2 separate regions of the Homo sapiens genome follow, and region 1 is linked to region 2. Evidence: promoter capture Hi-C in human tissues and cell types (Jung and others, 2019). All regions are on one chromosome and are shown on one strand. The core of a region is centred on a gene start or on the middle of the fragment in contact, and the rest is flanking DNA. Distances in the headings are between cores, read along the strand shown.

The links. The method cuts DNA at HindIII sites, captures the fragments that hold promoters and counts their contacts. A contact is called where the count stands out against the background at its distance.
Region 1: a contact is called between a fragment that was not itself captured here and the fragment with the promoter of RAB6B in region 2, in 1 of the 25 tissues and cell types used here (spleen).

What each region holds. Positions count from the first base shown.
Region 1 is chr3:133,934,462-133,940,687 of GRCh38, reverse strand. SLCO2A1 (solute carrier organic anion transporter family member 2A1) reads left to right here. Exons shown (of 14, transcript NM_005630.3): 12 at 2,195-2,259; 13 at 4,791-4,914; 14 at 5,858-6,226. The coding sequence ends at 5,975. Among named protein-coding and RNA genes, the nearest start is that of C3orf36, 7.8 kb to the right of the region's middle. The HindIII fragment of the contact is 9,478 bases long and covers 1-6,226 here.
Region 2 is chr3:133,894,632-133,901,259 of GRCh38, reverse strand. It overlaps RAB6B (RAB6B, member RAS oncogene family), which reads left to right and starts at 5,378. Exons shown (of 8, transcript NM_016577.4): 1 at 5,378-5,863. The coding sequence starts at 5,794. RefSeq lists a silencer at 5,359-5,408. The HindIII fragment of the contact is 14,643 bases long and covers 1-6,628 here.

The sequences.
Region 1 (6,226 bases), core at 2,954-5,453, 41 kb before region 2:
CAGCTTCACCTGAGACTCTTCAGCGGGCTTCCCTTCTTGCACCTTGGGTCAGATGGACCACAGTGGACCCTCCAGCCCTGACATAAAACTACATGAGGCCATGATGAGGAGAGGGCACAGAGTAGGAAAATCTCCCTGGCAAGTCGCTATGCAGCAGGAAGAAGGGCAATCCCTGTCAAATCACCTCCCAGAGGACTCCTGTCAAACCCTAGGTACAAGGAGGTCGTGAAGAACAGAGCATCATTTCAACCACAGGATGGGCTTCTCTAGAAAATCTCTCCTTTCTAGGTCGAGTTGGGGTAGGGGGTGGAGAGGAGGCCCCAGGATCCCACAACGATTTAAAGATAAATCCTACTGGGAAAGATGACAGAATTGATGCTATTTAGTGTGAAGAAGGAGAGGCTTAAAGATGACTTTGTAGGCCGGGTGTGGTGGCTCACACCTGTAATCCCAGCACTTTGGGAGGCCAAGGTGGGTGGACCACCTGAGGTCAGGCGTTCAAGACCAGCCTGGCCAACATGGCGAAACCTTGTCTCTACTAAAATTACAAAAGTTAGCCGGGCATGGTGATGGGCGCCTGTAGTCCCAGCTACTTGGGAGGCTGAGGCAGGAGAATTGGTTGAACCTGGGAAGTGGAGGTTGCAGTGAGCCAAGACTGAGCCACTGCACTCCAGCCTGGGTGACAGAATGAGACTCTGTCTCCGAAAAAAAAAAAAAAAAAAAAAGATGACTTTGTAGGTGACCCAAGCATTATTTATATGAGTCCTGGCCCCCAATTAGCCATGGGAACACAAGCTGGAAGTGAAGGCTAGCTGAAAACGTGGAAGGAGAAAGAGAGGTCAGAAGGTCAGCTTTCATTCAGGGCCACATGGGACAGAGACTAGAAGGGGCCCAAGATCTCAATCAAAAGCCAAATTGGGGTGGCCAAGTCCCGTTTCATTGAGAATCTAGGGGAGTCTGCCCAGGGCAAGGGCCAAGACAAGGCAGGTATCTATTATGAACTGGACCACTGGAGGGATCTGTAGACACAACAGGATTTGAGACACTTTGCATTGTGGGGGTCCCAAGGGGTGCCTCTTCCCCTGCCCCAATGAGTATTTGTCTCACTGGGCCATCCCTCAGGGGGACTGGGCAAAGGTCCCTTTCCAGTTTGCTAGCAGAACTGTGATGGTGGTGGTGAAACAAACCACAGGTAGAGGCCTGGGGATTACTTCTGAGCTCCCTTCCTCACTGTCCCCTAGCACTGAAGGCTCTTCCTGACAAGCACCCACCGGGAGTGTGTGTGCTCAGAGCACAGAGAGTCCTGGAGTCAAGTCACTCATCAGGTGCCTCTGCTGGCCAGCTGCTGGCTCCCCACCTTGTGTGGAGGTGTCCTCCCTCTCTCCACTCCCCAGCTGGGATGGCAGGGCCGTCCCCTGCTCTCTCTGAATCTCCTTCCTCAGCCAAACACATTTTCCTCTCTTGAAGGAAGATGGTTAGGGGCAGGACCAGCTACCTAATTTGCAGGACCTATTGCAAATGAAAATGTAAAGCCCCTGGCTCAGAAATTAAGAATTTCCAGACAGCTGCAGCAGAGCATTAAGCCAAACATGGGACCTTTCTGAGGGTGGAGTTGTATGCACACACCCACAGAGCTAGCCTGGGGTAGGGAATTCTTTTAGCTGTGCACAGAAGCCTGCAGCCCAAGGGCCCTAATTACACTTTGCAGCAGGGCTGTCTTTTACTGTTATAAGACATTCTGTGGGAGTTGTTCAGACCTGCTGCTATCAACACACCCACAGCATCCTTCTCTCCACTCCTAGCCTCTACTGCCCTCTGCTTCTTGAAGGGGGCTCTGGGCAGCCCTGAAAATCACACAGACTGGTGGTTCTCAGTGATGCATCAGAATCTCCTGGAGGTAAAATACAGATTGCTGGGCCCCATCCCCAGACTTTCCGACTCAGTAAGTCTGGGGTGGGCCTGAAAATCTGCATATCTAACAAGTTCCCAGGGGATGCTGATGATCCAGGGACCACGCTTTGAGGCCACTGATGTAAAGAACTAGAGCATTCAGCCCAGGTGAACCCGGTCACCAGAGGGCTCGTCAGGCCACATCAGGGCTGGTTCTGACCTGCTCTGAGGCTGGCTGCCCCTTACCCAAGGGATCGTGCAGCCCTGAATCCTCCCACTGCTGATTTCCTGTCTGTCTTTTCAGTGTGGTGAACCAGGAGGAAAAGTCATTTGCCATCGGGGTGCAGTTCTTGTTGATGCGCTTGCTGGGTAAGTGTCTAAGACCCCTCTTCCCAAGAAGTGGCCCCAGGCGATGGGGCATCTGAAGGCTATGGGTGCAGGGTAGCGATGGAGGAAGCACCATCTCATCTCCATGGCGAAGAGAAGCTGTGCATAATCAACAGCAGATGCCAAAATCCATGTGGACGGTTTCCCAGATTGCTTGAGGTTAGGAAAGACTCCATCTATGGCATTCATTCCTAACTAAGTTATGTAAGAAAAATGAAAAGTGAACACAGCTGAGAATACCTAATAGAGTGTTAAAGGCAGGTATTTTTAAATCCTTCTCACAAAACTCACTGTAGGAACAAAACTTTGCATTCCTGCCAAGCCAGAGCAGCGGCTGAGCCCAGCCCTGGCTTCCTTTCCATTTTACAAAATTCACTCCTCCTAAAACTATTTAGCAAAAGTTTCTTCCCTGTGGGGTCCTCTGCTGGTGAGTCCTGCCTGCCCTCAAGCAGTCCAGAGCCCACCAGAGGAATGGAGCTGTGCACAAGTGATCAGCAGTGCCCCAGGGGAGAGCGAGCTGCTTGAGGCAGCAGGAGTGCTCTCCCGGGGTGCCTGGGCTGAGGGCTGGGGGCACAATGCAGGCCCATTCCTGAACTGCTCACACTGGCTGTTCCTTCTTGACATATCTGTGCACTAGACTTAACACAAGGCAGCAATAGAGAGATCCTTGTAATGACAGGCACACAGTAGTAAAGGGACCTAATTGAACTGAGGATGTGTTAATTAAGGGTGCAAACTACAGAGGGGAATATGGAGACTCCAGCAAGAGGAACTTCAGTTACTATAAGGTGTCGTTTCTGACTATAAATCCTGAAATAATGTATAGCCCACTGTGCCTCATTACCCAGGGGCCAGGTCAACACCGCGCCCTGCAGTGGCTTCCATCCCCATTTTGAGATGTATTGGTGATGTCTCTACTGGGGCCAGGTGAGCGGGAGCCCTTGCTGAGCCCAATCCAGTCCCAGGCTGGGAGAAGTGTTTGGATGATGGGAATGAACCAGCTTTTTCAGTGGGATTTCTTGTTCCTCTAGTCCCTGCAGAGCCCCTTCAGACCCTGCTCCTGCTGCCTGCATTATAAACACAGAGGAAGCAGGGCGGCAGGATCTACCTGTCCTCCCAGCAGAGGCTCTGCTGTCATCAGAGCTCCTTATTTTCATTTATAACTTAACTTTCTCTAACACTTCTGCTGGGAAAGAGACCTCACATTCCTCTCAGCCCATCCAGCACCTAGGATAGGCTCTAAAGAGCCCTTTCCTGCTTCCTCCAGCAACCTTGAAAATGACCTTGAAAACAAGGACTCTCTCGGACTCTCTCGCACTGCTTGAAGCACTCGCTGCTTTTGCTTTTCCATTTGAGCTCAGATAACTCAATGTGGGACCACAATGAGAAAACCCAGGCCTGGAGGGGTTCCATTTATCACCCAAGAACACAATCCACTCTTGGGTAAAAAAAAGGACTTCCTATTACAGGTTTTAAATTACACATTGGGATTGGGTTGACAATGTTTCCGGACTTTGCTTCTACATAAGGAAGTGTCATATATCACTCTGGCCAGTTTTCATCCCCCTGTTCACCTGGAGACTTGAGAGTGAGCAGGATCTGAGTAGAGAGGCTTCTTCTTAGAGTTTCCCACTTGTGGGCAGTGCCACAAGTGGAGCATTGTCTGTCTTTCTTCTGGAAGCAGCTGCTCACAGGGCCCTAAACAAAGTCTGGGAGGCTGTTGTCAGCACTGTGGTGCTGAGAATGGGATGGGCCAGCCTTGGTGTAAATCCTGGACAAGCCCTCCGCAGTCCAGTAACTGCCTAGAGCTGTAGCTAGTGGTACGCTACCCACAGGTAGTGTGGCATCCGGAATATTAGACAGCCAGGAAGGCATAGCCCCTGCCAAGCCAAATCTTAACACTCAGCTGCTGGGAAGTTCGGGGTCCCAGAGCAGAAGCTTTGAGCAGCCAGGTATTGGGAGGTCTGCAGAGGGGTGTTGTCTAATCCAATAGGGCAGCTTGGTGTGGTGGAAGTACATGGGATTCGAACCTCCATAAACCAGGGTTCCAAGTCTGGCCTTGACTTCTCTTGGCTGTGTTACAGTGTCCCAGCCAAGAACCCCTTCCTCTTCACTAAAAAGTGGGCACCCACACCTCGGGGCCAGTGTGAGGACCTGAGAAGTCGATGCCTGGAGAGCCTCCTGCCACACAGTGGAGGCCCGTGTATCTCCACTCTGAGCTGATCTCAGGAGAACTATGTTGGATGTCTGAGCCGGCATCAAGGTGATCCCTGTGACTTACTCTGACTTGAAAGAATGGCCCAGGTCCCTTTTGTCTTCTAAGCCTTCTGGTGAAAGAGAAATTCAGGCTTCACTGAAAGCTATTCTGCTTTCCAGAGTCACTGTGAGTCCTATGGGTACGGCAGAGCCGTTCTCATGTATGTGAACTGTGTCGGGGACTTGGCTCCCACACCCCTGCTGGACACCTCTGCCTGCAGTTCCACCTGACCAGGGCTTTCTGAACCCTCTTCCAGCCTGGCTGCCATCTCCAGCCCTCTATGGCCTCACCATTGACCACTCCTGCATCCGGTGGAACTCGCTGTGCTTGGGGAGGCGAGGGGCCTGCGCCTACTATGACAACGATGCTCTCCGAGACAGGTGAGGGCCCATCATGTATGTGTGTCCCAGAGCCAGGCCCTGGGCTTGAGATGACAGTAGTCATATGCCCAGTGGCTACTGTGGGGGCTGTCAGGCTTCCAAGGAAGAGAACATGAAGGGCCACCTCTGCGGCCCTGCCATGGACAGGGAGCAGGGGCTACTATAACAGGCATTTCAGGGCTCACAGGGAGATGTCCAGGGACTTCCATGACCCGAAAGCCCTTGGAAGGGGCAGCAGACCCAGGGACTTCCCTGACCCGAAAGCCTTTGGAAGGGGCAGCAGCAGAAAGAAGGGGCGGGGATGGCTGGAGCCCAAGGAAGAGGCCATGGCTGTGGAAAAATTGGGGGCAGCCTCCTGCTGCTCAGAGACAGAGGGGGGCCACATCATGGCTCCTGGCAGAGGTCCAGGGCAGGGGGACCAACCTGCCTCAATGGGCCAAGTCCAGCTGCAGTGCTATTGGGTTCTGCACCCCTTCCAGCCACCTCACCTGCTGCCGTTGTCATATGGCCCAGAAACCACAGGAAGGTGGGCTTGAGGGGACTGGGCAGGGGCTGGAAATGGTATGGGAGTGGCAGAGAAGACCACAAAAGGGACAGGCCAAGAGGGCAGTGAGAAGATGCCTCTCTCCTTCTGGCTCTGCTTGGAGGTCAGGACCGTCTGGGGGTGGCTGGGGCAGCTGGGTCACCTCTGGCCCTCTGGAAAGAGCCAGTGGAGGGATGATGAGCCCTGGATTAAGAGTCCCATGCCTACTCCCTGCCTGCTTCCCTACAGCTTTGTTCCCTTTTGGGTCAAAGAAATGAGGAAAGTGATCCTCACCTGGATGGTGCCCACACCTTCCGCGGGCCAGCGTGGGAATGATGTGGTTCTTCCCAGTGGTCCTGGCCCTGGGATGTGGGCTGCAGAGCCCCCTCCCTCACCAGTCCTGCCTCCTCCTGCCCACAGGTACCTGGGCCTGCAGATGGGCTACAAGGCGCTGGGCATGCTGCTGCTTTGCTTCATCAGCTGGAGGGTGAAGAAGAACAAGGAGTACAACGTGCAGAAGGCGGCAGGCCTCATCTGACCCCACCCTGGGCCACTGCCCTGCTCCAGAGAGTGGACCTTGACTCTTCCACACCTGCCTATACTCACTAATGTTAACACGTCATTTCCTTTTTGTATTTTTAAACAAGAAAGAAAACCCCAGTCCTCATTTGCCTTCCCTACCTCTTCCTCCCAGAGTCCTCCCCACAGTTCCTAAGGGCCACTGTGTACCCGGGCTGTGTGGGCCAGAACTGGGGGGCTGAGTCTTCCCTGGCCCCTTGGAAGAGGCCC
Region 2 (6,628 bases), core at 4,129-6,628:
TACCACCACCCCACAGTAATGAGGACCAACAAATTTTTGACAAAGGTGCAAGAGCAATTCAATAGAGAAAATATAATCTTTTCAACAAATGCTGCTGTAGCAACTGGACATCCATGGGCAAAAAACCAAAACCAAACAACAAAAAAACCCCTCCAGCCTAAGTCTTACACCTCACACAAATGTAACTCAAAATGGACCATGAACATAAATGGAAGACATAAAACTATTTTTAAAATTTTTTCAAAAAACATGGGAAAGTATCTTTGGGACTTAGGGCTTAGTAAAGAGTTCTTAGACATGGCACCAAAAGGCACAATTCATAAAAGAAAATATCAGTAAATTAGACTTCATCAAACTCAAAAACTTTTGCTTTGAAAGAGACCTTGTTAAATTGCTCGGAGTGGTGGCTCATGCCTGTAATCCCAGCACTTAGGGAGGCTGAGGTGGTAGGGTTGCTTGAGGCCAGGAGTTCAAGACCAGCTTGGGTAACATAGCAAGACCTTGTCTTTATAAAAACAAAATTTAAAAATTAGCTGGGTGTGCTGGCGCACCTCTGTGGTCATAGCTACTTAAGAGGCTGAGGCAGAAGGATCACTTGAGCCCAGGAGTTTGAGGTTGCAGTGGGCCATGATTGTGCCACTGCACTCCAGCAGAGTGGGAAAAAATATTTGTAAATCACATATCTGACAAAGAACTAGTATCTAGAATACATAAAGAACTCTCAAAACTTAACAGTAAAGAAAAGAATCTAATTTAAAAATGGACAAAAGACATGAACAGACATTTCATTAAGAGGATATACAGATGGCAATTAATCACATGAAAATATGTTGAACATCATTAGTCATTGGAAATGTAGATTAAAACCACCCACAATGAGATATTACTACATTCCTCTCATAATGGCTTAAAATATTGACAACAGCAAATGCTGATGAGGGTGAGAAGAGGCTGGATCGCTCATCCATTGCTGGTGGGGAGTGGAAAGTGGTAGAACCACTCTGGAAAAGTCTGGCAGTTCCTTTAAAAAACAAACATGCATATGACCCAGCAAGTGCACTCCTGGGCATTTATCCTGGAGAAATAAAAACTTCCTTTCACACAAAAATCTCTACATGATAGTTCATAACAGCTTTATTTGTAATGGCCCCAAACTGGAAATAATTTCAGATGCCTTTCCACAGGTGAGTGGTTAAACAAACTGTACGTCCATACTATTGAATGCTACTCAGCAGTAAAAGGGAGCTAACTATTGCTACAAACAATAACCTGGGTGAATCTCCATAGAATTATGTGAAAAAAAAAATAGGACATGCAGTGGAATAGTAACCAGCAGGGAAAATGAAAGAACTGCTGCTACATGAATCAACAGATGGATCTCAGGAACATAATGTTAAGAAAAATGCAAGTCATAGGACAGAATATACAGTTTGAGACATTATATAAAATTCAAAAGATGCAAAACAAAAAAGTATTGTTGGAGGACACATCCAAATGTGATAAAAACTCAAAGAAAAGCCACAGTTCTGGATTTTCAAGCTGGGGAGAGAGGGAGGGGCAGAAACACCTGAGGGCCTCAAAAGTACTGTAATATTTGAGTGCTCCAGCCAGGTGAAGTGAAAAAAACAATCCCAAAGGGTGATATACTGTGTAATGCCACTTATATAAGATTCTTGAAATAACACATTTATTGAAATGAAGAACAGATTAGTGGTTGCCAGAGGTTAGGAAGGGGTTGAGGGTGGGAGGAAAGTGGGTGTGGCTATAAAAGGGGAACATGAGGGCTCTTTGTGTGTCAAGGTACAGAACAGAAATGTACCTTGACTGTCTTAATTCCAGTATCCACATTATGATACTGTAGTATAAAGTTCTGCAAGATCTTACTCTTGGTGAAAACTAGATAAAGGATATACAGATCTGTCTTTTTTTTTTTTCCTGTTTGTGAATCTACAATGATCTCAAAAATTTAATTTAAATATATATATATATATATATAACACAGCAAAGGGCTCAGGAAAACCAAGATCTTGAAGAAAATGAAAAATATAGATGATGCTGTAGTGCTATATGATCTAACGAATATCTTTGAAAAATAGTTTGGCACAAAATTAAACGTACACTTGTTTTTATACCACAATTTACCTACTGACACATATCTTAGAAAAACTTCACAGAGGCATCAAGAGACATGTAAAGAATGTTGATGGCAGCATTGTTTGTTAATAGCAGAAACAAAACTGAGTGCATTTTCCAATGTTAATTTCCTGGTTTTACTAAGCAATGTGGTTATGTAAGATGTTATCACTGGGGTAGCTTGGTGCAGGATACATAGTAACTCCCTGCACTGTTTTTTATAACCTCTATGTGAGTATAAAATTATTTAAAATAATTTTAAAAAAGGCCAGGCGTGGTGGCTCACACCTGTAATCCCAGCACTTTGGGAGGCTGATGCAGGCGGATCACGAGGTTAAGAGATTGAGACCATTCTGGTCAACATGGTGAAACCTCGGCTCTACTAAAAATAAAAAAATTAGCTAGACCTGGTGGTGCGTGGCTGTAGTACCAGCTACTCGGGAGGCTGAGGCAGGTGAATTGCTTGAACCTGGGAGGCGGAGGTTACAGTGAGCCGAGATGGCGCCGCTACACTCCAGCCTGGTGACAGACCAAGACTCCATCTCAAAAATAATAACAACAATAATAAAATAAAATAAAATAAAAATTTTAAATGACACATTTTACAGAAAATCATTTAAAAATTGGGGCATAACTAGAATACTAACCAGCAGTGAAAATGAAAGAACTGCTGCTACATGAATTAACAAATGGATCTCAGAAACATGATGTTAAGAAACATGCAAGTCAGGACAGAAAACACAGTTTGATACCTTATATAAGATTCAAAAGATGCAAAACAAAACAAAGTATTGTGAAGGACACATCCAATGTGATAAAACTCAAAGAAAAGCTAAGATTCTGGATTTCCAAGTTGGGGAGGGAGGAAGGAGAAGAAAGCACCTGGGGGCCTGAAAAGTACTATAATATTTGAGCCCTCCAGCTGTGTAGAGGGTAAATGGGCACTCAGAGTGATAGGTTTTCTTTGTAACTTACATATACACAGCACATACTAAATAGGAAGATTTAAAGAATTTTTTTAAATGGAATGCACAGATTCTATGATATGGAAGAAACTCTTTCTAGTGAGGTTGCCAGGCTGAGGTTCAGTGGCCCCATTTTCCACCTGGAGAAAGTCTGTCTGCTTTAGGGCAGGTTAAGGACAAGACTCAAAATCAGGGGAGATAAGCAATGATAGTTGGAGGAGAGAGACTTGGAGCAGAGCAAACTTGGAGTCTCTAAGGCTCTCATTTCCACAGCATGATGACTGCATTCTGAGAGCAATGCCAGTATCTGCTCCAGCGACGTGAGCCCGGTAGTCGGAGCCGGGTTTTTGTCATTTGAACTGGAAGAATTATGACAGAGTCCCCCAAAGTAAGCTGGACCATAGTCAGCCCAGCTGGACCTGGTAAGCATATGGGATGACTTGGAGGCTTAGAGGTGCCCAGAGGGGCCCTGCCCCAGCCCTCCCTCCCCTACTGCCATACCACCTTACATGTGCGGGACCAGATGATCAGAGGAGGTACAGGACCTGCCTAGGCTTACCCAAAAGATGGTGCCTTTTCTGGCACACCTCAGCTGTTTTGTCTTGCCACCGATGATCTCATCAGGTCAGGATGAGAGGGTACAGGGAGACAGCACTAGATGTTAGGAGAAGGTGCAGGTTGGAGGAGTGTTGCATGGCTGGGTACCTTGGCCAGTAGCTCACTGGCCCTTCTTTGGAGGGATCACTTATAGAGACGGGAAGGGCTGTGACTTGGGAGTCTCCTCTCCTTTCAGAGCTTTCTTCAACCCCAAGCTGGATATGGTCTCCTAAGAGAGCAGGAGCCCCAGAGAAGTGGGTGGGTGTCTGGAGGGTTACCCTGAGCCTGGTGCCAGCCACAACGGGGCAGATATTCTAGGTGATGACTTACAATCCCTGGGGTTCCAAACTAAAGGTAATTATGAGAATAGGACAGTTATTTTGATTTGAGTTCTAGATGTTCATTCAAACATTCAACAACTATTTCTTAAACTCTGAGCTATGTCCTTGGGATGCAGTGGTGGAGCTTCAACTACTGCTTTTATGGAACTTGTGGTCAGGTTTCTAACAAGAAATAGGAAAGAGATTCGAGGTGAGCACACCAGGGAGACAGATAGGCTTGCCCAAGCAAGCCCCATAAGTCAAAAAGGGGGTAACAAGTGTCCACGAGAAATCTGGAGGTGAAGGTTGTGTCTCACTCCTCTTTCTCTTTCTATAACACATGCGTGCACACACCATCGTGTTCACCGACATGCAGATTATTATCTCAAATAAATGCTCACTGAACAGCCATAAATGAACAAGACCACGCTGTGGCAGAACAGTAAGGGACAGCTTTGTAAAACCTCAATTAACCAGCATGCCTTAGGCTCGGGCTGTCTTGGGAGTGTTTCTAGCACTTGGCGTCTGCTCTTTGCTCTCACTCACTCACAACTTGGTCTGTGTGCCTCGATGGACCAGGCAAGTAGAGGCCAAGGAGAGGTCGCCCACATGTCCTCAGATAGCTCATTGTCCAGATACACCTAATTGCCAGGGTGGGGAGTGGCATTGTCAGCCTGGCGACCCCGGGATCAAGAAACGCAGGGCACTGTCCTGGAGATAGTGGCACTGGCATTCAGAGCGTCACCGTTCCTTCTCTCCCATGGGGCAGGTTAGGATTTGGCATAAAATGATCCAAATGAGCAGCTGGTTTGAGGTAGGCGCGCCTGATATTGGCAGCTCCTCTCTCGCTGGCCAGGTCTGCGGGGGCACCCACAGACTCCACAAGAGGCCGCCCAAATAAAGGGTCTAGGCCTCGAGAGGGAAGGGCGGGCTAGAAGCCACGGGGGGCAAGAGTCGAGCCCCATCTGCGCCAAGTACGCCAGGTTTCCCTAGGTCTGACCGCCCTGACGGGCCTCGCCACACCCTGGCTCTCCCCCACCTTCGTTCCTTTCCGCCCTGTCGGTCGGACGACTGCGCTGTGCATCGGTGTCTCGCGAGGTGGAGGAAGGGACTGGCATCTAGGTTTAAAAGACCAGAAACAAATGTCCCCTGACAATTTCTGTCATTTTCTGGATTCAAAAGAGGGGTAGAGTGGGGAAGACAGACGCAGCGGGGCAGCGAGACACGGTCCCCCCCGGGGGGCTCTCAGGGGTACGGCGAGGAGGTTCTCTCCTGCCCGGGTGCGGGCTCGGGTGGGCGGGCGCACGCCCCCCAGCCCCGCAGCCCCGCGGGCCCCGCATGACATCAGAGGCTGGGGAGCGCACAGAGCGCAGGCGCCGGCGGAGGAGGCAGGCGGGAGGGGGCCGACTGGCGCGGCTCTGGAGAGCGCTCCTCCGCCCCGCGCGCCGTCCCTGCGCCCCGCTCCGCCCGCGCCTCTCTCCCAGCGCCGCGCCTCGGGCGTAAAGAGCGCGCCCCTCGCACCGCAGCCAGTGCCGACCGCAGCAGCCCAGCCCCAGCCTTCCTCCGCCTCCGCCTCTCTCTCCTCCTCCTCCTCCGCCGCCGGACACGCAGCCGCAGGCCGGGACCGGGACGCAGCTGGGGAGTCAGGGACGCGCGCAGCCAGCCCTTCCCCCTCCGGCTCCCGCACCGCCGGCCGCCTCCCCTCGCCCTCCTACTCTCCCCTCCCTGCTCCTTCGCTTTTTCCTCCTCCTCCTCTCCCGGCCCCGGCTGCCAGCACCATGTCCGCAGGGGGAGATTTTGGGAATCCACTGAGAAAATTCAAGTTGGTGTTCTTGGGGGAGCAGAGCGGTAAGTACCCGGCTTAATCTCTTGGCTTGTCGCCGAGTCGACCCCCGCCGCCCAATCGCCCACCCCATTGGGACCCCCGGCCCAGGCTCGGAAAGGCCCCTCCTTGCCAGGGTAGAGGAGAGGGACAGGGATGGGGAGGTCGGGGCGGGGTCGGGCTGGGGAGGGGCCAAGGGTGAGGACGGAGGAGGCGCTGGAGCCTGGGGTGGAGGTGAGGGTGGGCTCTGGGTGGGGGGCCCGGGGTGTGGGTGCAGGTGCGGCGCTGCAGGGGGCCCGGAGGGCGGCGGCTGGCTCCGCGGCGCTGGCCAGGGCGTGAAGGAACCGGGCTCGCTGGCTAGCTCACACTGCGGCACCGGCTGCGGGCGACCGCGCAGGTGGCTGGGTGCTGGCGGGGGTGGGGAGAGCGACGGGCGCCCCCCTTGGAGAACGAAGCGAAGCTGGGGTCTGGCCGGGCCTCACTCCGCTGCACTGGAGGGGTGTTCCCTGCGGACCCTGCTGGGAACCATGCGAAAGGGCACGTCCAGGGCGTGGGACAAACAGCCACCGGGGAGAAAAGAGCGACACCTGTCTCTGCTCGAAAGAGCGAGTGCAGGCCATGGGGGAACGGGGAGCCTACCTCCCCTGGCTCACGTCCGACTGGGCACAGAAGGTTCTAGACCCGCTGCCCTTCGCCGGCGCTTGTTAGTCTCCTTGCTGCCCAGGGATCTGGGCAATTGCAGTGAGGGCTACCCCAACTCGAGGCGATTTGGGGAATGATACAGGGGCACC